Linked DNA regions of Homo sapiens: region 2 is linked to region 1. Evidence: promoter capture Hi-C in 16 types of primary human blood cells and fetal thymus (Javierre and others, 2016). All regions are on one chromosome and are shown on one strand. Each heading gives the region's core, a stretch centred on a gene start or on the middle of the fragment in contact. The rest is flanking DNA. Distances are from core to core; before and after follow the strand shown. Region 1 holds the start of CORO2A (coronin 2A). Region 2 overlaps NANS (N-acetylneuraminate synthase).

What was found. Contacts are between HindIII fragments. The CHiCAGO score rates a contact against its expected background, and 5 or more counts as called.
Region 2: a fragment that was not itself captured here is called in contact with the fragment with the promoter of CORO2A in region 1 in 15 of 17 cell types (total CD8 T cells, non-activated CD4 T cells, naive CD4 T cells and 12 more); the score reaches 15.1 in total CD8 T cells.

What each region holds. Positions count from the first base shown.
Region 1 is chr9:98,190,879-98,194,921 of GRCh38, reverse strand. CORO2A (coronin 2A) reads left to right here and starts at 2,285. Exons shown (of 12, transcript NM_052820.4): 1 at 2,285-2,363. RefSeq lists silencers at 1,956-2,505, 2,576-2,625 and an enhancer at 2,778-3,432. The HindIII fragment of the contact is 3,890 bases long and covers 1,246-4,043 here.
Region 2 is chr9:98,073,917-98,078,490 of GRCh38, reverse strand. NANS (N-acetylneuraminate synthase) reads right to left here. Exons shown (of 6, transcript NM_018946.4): 3 at 1,474-1,573; 4 at 144-298. It also overlaps a transcript of TRIM14 not described here. Among named protein-coding and RNA genes, the nearest start is that of NANS, 19 kb to the right of the region's middle. RefSeq lists an enhancer at 3,052-3,858. The HindIII fragment of the contact is 4,397 bases long and covers 1-3,448 here.

The DNA of each region.
Region 1 (4,043 bases), core at 1,036-3,535:
ACATCCATAGGACATCTAGGAAGGCTAGGCCTGGAAGGATGAGTGGGTTTAGACAAGGGAGATGATGATTTGGGAAGAGAACTGCAGACAGAGCAAAGGCTCAGAGATGTCAGAGTGCAAGGCGAGTGGCATTGGCAGAGGTAGAAAGCCACACCAGAGATGCTGGCCCAAGCCCTAAGTGAATTAAGACATTCAAGGCCAGGCGTGGTGGCACGCACCTGTAATCCCAGCACTTTGGGAGGCCAAGGCAGGCAGATTGCTTGAGCCCAGGAGTTGGAGACCAGCCTGAGCAACGTGGCGAAACCCTATCTCTACAAAAAATATAAAAATTGGCTGGGCATGGTGGCACGCACCTGTAGTTCTAGCCATTCGGGAGGCTGAGGTGGGAGGATTGCTTGAGCTTGTGTGGTGGAGGCTGCAGCAAGCTAGGATTGTGCCACTGCACTCCAGCCTGGGCGACAGAACAAAACCATGCAAAAACAACAACAACAAAGTTATTCAGATGCCTTAGCCTGGGAAAGATCATGGTGCCCACCGTCCAGCTGTAATTCAAGTAAAAACCAAACCATGATTATAAAGAATTCCCACAATGTTCTGATTTCATCCATATGTTTGTTTGTTTGTTTGTTTGTTTGAGACAGAGTCCCACTCTGTAGCCCAGGCTGGAGTGCAGTGATGTGATCTCGGCTCACTGCCACCTCCACCTCCTAGGTTCAAGTGATTATCCTGCCTCAGCTTCCCAAGTAGCTGGAACTATAGGCACATGCCACCACGCCCGGCTAATTTTTGTATTTTTAGTAGAGACAGGTTTTCACCATGTTGGCCAGGCTGGTCTTGAACTCTTGAGCTCAAGCAATCCACCTGCCTTGGCCTCCCAAAGTGCTGGGATTACAAGCATGAGCCACTGCGCCCAGCCATCCATATGCTTGATACCCAACTCTTGCACGCTAACACCAGAAGCATGCGTTCAGTCTACCTGCTGGGCAATCCAGCTCCAGAAGGTCTGAATCAGAGCTGTAGGATGGGGTTTTCAGGACCATAGTGCACACTGGGCTTTGGGTGGTAGGCAGGGAGCCCGTCCAGCTCTGGGCAGGGGGGTGGTACAGTGGACTATGGAAGCTGAGTCACATTCTAAGGAGAGAATCAAGAGCTCCCTAAGTACCTTGCCACTCCAAGCCTCAGTTTTCTTATCTGTAAAATGGAGGTAATAATAGTGGCTAAATAAAGCCACTATTATTAGAAGCTTAGAAGAAACGATACAGATATGTAAAGTAGTAACAGTGTACTCTGTTATCCACTCCACAACTATATATTGAGTGGTTACTATGTGCCACGGAGCAGTTCAAGGCCCTCAAGATAACCCGTCTCTACTGAACAAAACCAAGAGCTCTTCACAGACGTGGTGTGGAGTGGAGTGGCTGTTAGCTTAGTAGCCGTGGGAGCCATACTGCCTGGGGTTGCATGACTAGCCGGGTGATCTTAACCTAGGTACTTAATATCTCTGTGCCTCAGCTCTTTTGTGTTAAATAGGTGAGTAATGGTATCAACCTCATAGGCCTGTGTGACAGTGAAGCGAGGTAATGCACAGAAGGCGCTTAGAGGAGTGCGTGGCTCAGTAGTGTTAGGTGGGGGTGGTACCCAAAGGTAGGGCCTCCCCATTGTCTAGTGTCCTCAGGGCTCTCCAGCCAGCGAGGCTGGCAGCAGCGCCCCCGGCTGGTCCCGAGAGAAGGAAGGGCGTCCTCCTCGGTTCCCAGCGGCGCTCCCGGCTCCTCTCCTCCCTGCGGACGGGGAAGCCTCGGTAACCGCTGTAACTGCTCGGGGAAAGGAGCGCTTCCCTGGCCGGGCTCGGCGCGCGCACTGTACCCGGCCGGGATCGTCACATCCAGGGCTCAAACAGCCTTAAGAGGCCGACGCGGTTACTGTCTCCATTTCACAACGGGGGAAACTGAGGCTCCGGGAGGTCAGGTTCCTCATCCCACACCACGCAGCGAGGGCACGGCGCGACGTGGGGCCCGCGGCTCTGCCTGTCCCCAGCCTCCGCCTGGTGGCCGGCAGCCCGCCCCAATCACTGCGGCGTGTGCGCGCCTGTTCCCAGCACGTGTGCGCGCCCCGAGACCCGCCCCGGGGAGCCAGGAGCGCGGTCGGGGTCGTGGGGGCGGAAAAGGGTGGCCAGGGCGGACCCGCGGGGCGGGCAAAAGGGCGGACCTTGGGCCAGGCCCCCGCCCCGCCCTCCGGCCCCGCCCGCCGGGCTGCAGGGGGAGGCGGCGGCGGCTCTGGGCGCCGGGAGTCGGCGGGCGGCGAGGAGCGCGGAGCCGGAGCTGGACGCCGCCGCCGCCACCGCCACCTGCGCGGCAGTCATCAAGGTAGGGCGGCCCTGCGCCGCCGGCCGTGCCTTCCCGGTCTGCGCGATGGGGGCGTCGGGCGGGACGTGCGCGCTGCGGCTGCAGCTCCCGGAGAGGGAGGGATGCGGGGCTCGGAGCGCGGGGGACCTGGCTTTCAGCCCCTTTGCGTGACCTTGCACAAAGCACTGCTCCTCTCCAGGCCTCAGTTTCCCCGTCAGGATAGCTTGCTCATTGGTGGCCCCCTTCTCGCGGGGTTGTTGGGAGGGGCCGCCTCGAGGTCCGGGCTCCCGACGGCTCGCTGCCCTCATGAGCACTGTCTGCACCGCCCACCCCTCCTGCCCGCGGTGAGGGAAGCTCACTCTGGGCGCGGCCAGCCGGTCCCGACAGGCCCCTGCTGTGGCCCGGGTGCTCCATGGGACTCTTGTCGGGACCCTCCCCCTCTTGGCTGCGTTACCTGCTGGGCCTCAGCTTCCTGGTACAGGAAACGGTGGGGTGGGGGGCATCCCCGGGTCCCCGCCAAGCCGGCCTGGGCGTGCATGTGGGGCATCAGCCGGCCCGCCAAGAGGGTTTACTCGTCTGGGGCTGGAGGAGCCCTAGGTTGGAGGTGGCTGGACTCCTGGCGGCACGACTGCCTGGACCAGCCCCACGTAGGCACCTCGATTTAGAGAGTGGTATAGGATAGCTCCTTCCCCTTCCCCACCCGGGCCAGGTGCTGGTGCCTAGCTCTGTGTCCCAGAGCTAGTGTGTGATAAGGTGTGACACACACTAGCTGGTGTGACAAGGGGTGACTGGCGGCCACGCCTGGACCTCAGAGGGGTGACAGTGCCAAGGTGCTGTGTCCGCGTGGCATTAAGGGATGGGGCAGAGCACAGGTCTGAGGGACTGTGGTCCCAGGCTCCCTAGGTAAAGAAGACCTATGGCATCTGGCCCAGCCCCTCTGTAAGATCCCCTCTGGAAGGTCTTGCTGCCCCCTTGCACACTCCTTGTGATAGGAATCTCACTAGTTGTAAACCAAGCTGGAATCTGCTACCCAGTCACTGCCTCTCCTGCTGGTCCTGCTCTGGACACACAAACAACCTCTGACCCTTCCTCCCTCACCCTGGGGCAGTGGTCAGGTCCCTTAAATATGCTCATCTCCAGACCCAGCAGCCCCAGGCCCAGCAGTTTCTCCCATCAGATCCCAGGGAGCCAAGGCAAGAAGAGGGAGCCGAGGTGTCTGCCCTGGAGCAGGCTGTGGGGCCTCCGCTTTCCTGGGGCTTGTTCAGAACCCACCTGTGCATCAGGACTGGAATGTGTCTCCCCAGCTTCCTGCCCCTCCTGGGGACCGTCTGAGAGGTCCGGAGTGAGGAGAGCCGGAGCCCCTCTGCAGGCCTTTCCTGCCCCATGGGGCCTCTTCTCCACCTCCCTGATGCCTGCCCTGTTTGAGGGAGCAGTTTCTAGGAATCACTTCTCAGCCTCCTGGTCTTTCTTGTCCCCTTCATGACCTGCCCTGCACCCAGGGATTTTCTTAACAGCCAAAAGAGGGCAGGAGGCCCCTGGACAGGTAGTGAGCTCTTTGTCATCACAGGTATTCAAGCAGAACCTGGGGGTGAGCTACCTTGGACTGAAAGTCTATGGAATTCTAGGGCTGAAGTAGTGCCTATGACCTTGCCCTGCGGCCATGGTGGAGCTGCACAGGACTGGGAGCTGGACCACAAATGA
Region 2 (4,574 bases), core at 1-2,500, 120 kb after region 1:
AATTTGATTTGGTAACAGCAAGACTGTCAAAGGATGTTCAAATTATAAAGTATGCCATGTTTGTTAGAATTTTGGTTATAAAAAAGACTACGCCTTCCCCATAGTAAATGGCCCAAGAAGGGAACCCCCTCCCTCCTGCTCACCGAGATGACCCGCAGGTTGACGTCCTCAGGCTGGAGCGGGTATGCGCTGGTACACTGCAAGAAGCAGAAGTTGGGGTTGAGGGGCTTCACGATCTGATAAACTTGCTTCATGGTGTCCATTGACTGCATCCCACTGGAGATCACCATTGGGCGACCTGAGTAATCCAGCACCAACACCATCAGCACTTTCTCTTTAGAGGTTCTGACTCTCCCCAACACATCCCAACTGCTGGTCTCATCATTCAACTGAACTCCACAGACATCTCTTAAAACACTGTGCCAGCCCCTGTGGGGGAACAGAGAGGAGCTTGTTGGGTTCCTGCCCTCGGCCACAGGAAAGGTGGGCTCCCCTCTGCCCCCCGACAGTGTTCTTGAGCAAAAGGAACTGAATTAAAGAGGCAGAGGAATTTCACACTGCCAAGAGGAAAATGAGTATCTTATCTGATTAATAGGTTGTATACCATGGCAGTACAGTAGAATGAGTGCTGATTCAAGAGTGTGAATGAATGTGAGGTGTGGAGCTGCCACTTCTAGCTGTGCCTGGGCAGAGTACTGTCCGTCTCTGAGTCTCAGAGGCCTCCCCTGTGAAATAAGTATCAAGCATCATAATCATGACCTGTTTCAGTCCTAGGAGTGTTATGAGGATCAAATGAAATTGTTCATGTTGTAAAACCACTTTACACGATCATGTCCCACTGCGGTCTCAAACTCAAGCAATCCTCCTACCTCAGCCTCCCGAGTAGCTGGGGCCACAGTAATGCACCACCATACCCAGCTAGGTTTTATATATACTGTCATATCCTTAATTTCTTATAAATTTTAGTTAAAAAATTTTCTAGGACAGGTGCAGTGGCTCACACCTGTAATCCCAACACTTTGGGAGGCTGAAGTAGGAGGATCACTTGAATCCAGGAGTTCAAGACCAACCTGGGCAACATAGACAGACCTTGTCTCTATTAAAAAAAAAAAAAAATTCTTAAAAAGAATTTCTAAATGTCTTATAAAAACTGTCATATTCTTAATTCATTTTCTTTCAAATTAGCTTACAAAAAATGGAAGTACAGGCTGATTGAAAAGAGGTTTCTGGCAGGGCACAGTGGCTCATGCCTGTAATCCTAGCACTTTGGGAGGTCGAGATGGGAGGATTGCTTTAGGCCAGGAGTTCAAGACCAACCTGGCCAACACAGCGAGACCCTATCTCTATTTAAAAAAATGAAAAGAGGCTAAAATTTGTCTTCATGAAATCTGCTGAAAGTGGGCCACCATGAGGGGAGTAAAAATATGAAGGTTTGGACTCCCTTCGATTTTAAGTCAAAAATTAGACACTTACCTTTTTTGGCTGTCTTTTCCAGATAAGGAAAATTATTAGTGTCTCCAGATCCAACTTTGAAAAATGGAACATTCAGTTCATGCAGGAATTCAACTGCCATCTACAAAAATCAAAGAGGGAGCTCCTTTTCACCATTGTCCAAAAACACTGTTGTTATGACAGGCAAGGAATAACATACAAGTAGAAAAACCCCTCATCTTAGGCAGTAGAGGGACGCTCAGCAACTTGAAAGCAGGCAAAGATTTGTTCTCAGTCATTTCATTCAAATGCAAACATTCATTTGCATCCACCCATCCATTAGCCCAACAAACGTTTGGTGCTGGTCTTTGCTGGCTACAGGAATCTGGAAAAGGGCTGGGCGTGGTGGCTCATGCCTGCACTTTGGGAGGCCGAGGCGGGCAGATCACCTGAGGTCAGGAGTTTGAGACTAGCCTGACCAACATGGTGAAACCCCGTCTCTACTAAAAATATAAAAATTAGCCGGGTGTGGTGGCGGGCACCTGTGATCCCAGCTACTCAGAAGGCTGAGGCAGGAGAATCACTTGAACCTGGGAGGCGGAGGTTGCAGTGAGCTGAGATCATGCCACTGCACTCCAGCCTGGGCCACAGAGCGAGACTCCATCTCAAAAAAAAAAAAGAATCTGGAAAAGAACCTTTCCCCTGGCCAGACCCTACCTGCCCCAGGGGCCCAAGGCCAAATGAACAAACATGAAACGGTCATGACCTAATCCTGACCCAGAAAACCAGGCAGTGAAAACATGAATAGCCTCAAAGGCTTTCCCTTCTACTCGGCCAAACGAGCAGGAAAAGGGGCTATTTCAATTCTTGGCGAAAGGGGGAAAATGGAGCATTTTTTTGCCCAGCCTCTACATAAGGATCCATGGCTGGCAGGGCCCATTCAACCCGAGCCCTTTCAGGCCTCAAAGCACGCTGCCTACTTAAAAGTGAACCTCAGTCACTTTTTTCAGATATAACGTCACTGCTTGAGGTTACCTATTTAGTGCTCTTCAACATCCTTCTCTAGTATTCATCAACAAGACTCAGGAAATTGGTAAATGTCAGCAAATGCTTGCTGAAGGAATCAGTGGATCACAAGTTATAAGAGTAAAATCTCAGTTTGCTGTCAAATTATAAGAACTCAAAAACTTTTTATTATCATTTCTTTCCAGCTTCAGTAAGGTGTAATTGATATACTAAAAACTGCACATAATGTAATTTGGTGAGTTGGGACTTAAGTATACACTACTGCTACCATCAGCACAAGAGTAATAAACATACACATCACCTTCAAAAGTTTTCTTGAGTCCCTTTGTTTTGTTTTGAAGTTGGAAATCAAAAGTCGAAAAAATCAATGTCTCTGAATGGTGACTCAGAAATAAGTTAGGGCTTAGTGAGTTGCTCACACTTGATCACATGGGCACAAATCTTTCCCTCTCCCAGGGAAGTTGCTGAAATGAAATGCAAACTCTGATTGGTCTAGGACCGACGGACCGACGGACCAACCAACCTACCTCCCTTCCTGTCTCCTTCCCTCCCTCCCTTCCTTCCTCCCTCCCTCCCTTTCCTCCCTTTCCTTCCTCCCTTTCCTTCCCTCCCTCTCTCCCTTTCCTTCCTCCCTCCCTCCCACCGTTTCCTTCCTTTCCTCCCTTCCTTCACCTTTCTCACTGCTCTTCCTCTGCTTTATTTTTAACTCTTCTCTTTTCCCCTTCCATCTTTTTCTTTTCTTTTGTGGTAGAGACGGGGTCTTGCTATGTTGCCCAGACTGGTCTCAAACTCCTGGGGTCAAGCAATCCTCCTGCCTCAGTCTCCCAAGTAGCTGGGACCACAAGCACGTGCCACCACATGTGGCTAATTTTTTTTTTTTTTTAATTTGCTGTGGAGATGGGGTCTTGCTATGTTGCCCGGGCTGTTCTCAAACTCCTGACCTCAAGCAGTTGTCCCACCCTGGCCTCCCACAGTGCTGGGGTTGCAAGCTTCAGCTGCCATGCCCAGTACCTTCCATACCTTTCCACCTCACTCCTTCCTGTTTGTGTCTCATAACACTGCTAACTAGCCCTAAGACAGAACTGAAAAAACATCAGTTTTAAATATATTTTTTCAATAAAATCTAATTTTCCTACCCTTCTCACTTCATTTGGCAGATGAAGAGAGTGCTTTCTGTTTAAAGAAGGAACCTTCCACTGAGTTTTCTTTTGTATAATGTTCATCTTGTGGGAGTGTGGTGTGGCCCACCAGGGCATAAACAGAAGCAGAAACCCCCCCAAGAGAGGGGCAGAGCGATCGGGGCAAGGAGGGGGGACAAGTGCAGAAAAACACCTTGTGAAAGCTTACCTACAGAGGCTGTAAAATCTGCATGGAATTCTGTAATTTTCAAGTAAAGAAAAAGGCCAATTCCTGCTGGAAAGGGAAGGGGCGCCTCATTTTGCCGCCTCCTGGGGAGCCAGCGCCACCCAGTGGACATTTAGAAAACTGCCACTCAGAGCCATCGGGCAAAGGGAATCTGAGTAATCTGGAAGATCCTAACTTTCAGCCCTAAGACAGTATCGCTGTGCCTAGGGGCTACTACAGGCTGGGTCAGCAACTGGTGACCCCTTTCTCTTCAGGGACTCCTTGACTTCCCCTAGCCTGCCGACCGTGCTATCGGGTTCCCTCTATCTGGGGTTCCATGCAGCCCGGCAGCCTCAGCACTCCTCTCTCCCTCCTGCCCCATAGCACAAAGTCTGTGGGAGTCTGAAGGGAGCTCAGGCATGTACAACTCTCCTCGGGCTCCCAGCTGAGTTCAACATGCAGAAATGGGTCCCATGGATAGCCTCGTTTGGGAGAAACACTACCCTGCCTTAATGCCTTCTTAGAGGGTCCCAGTAAATCAACTTAGCTGAGTTCCAAACCCAGTGTTTCCCAAACTTATTCGACTCAGAACTTTATTAATTCTGGCCAGGCATGGTAGCCCATGCCTGTAATCCCAGCACTTTGGGAGGCCAAGGCAGGAGGATCATTTTAGCCCAGGAGTTTGACACCAGCCTAGGCAACATGGCGAAATCCCGTTTCTACAAAACATATAAAAATTAGCCGGGTGTGTGGTGTGTGCCTGCAGTCCCAGC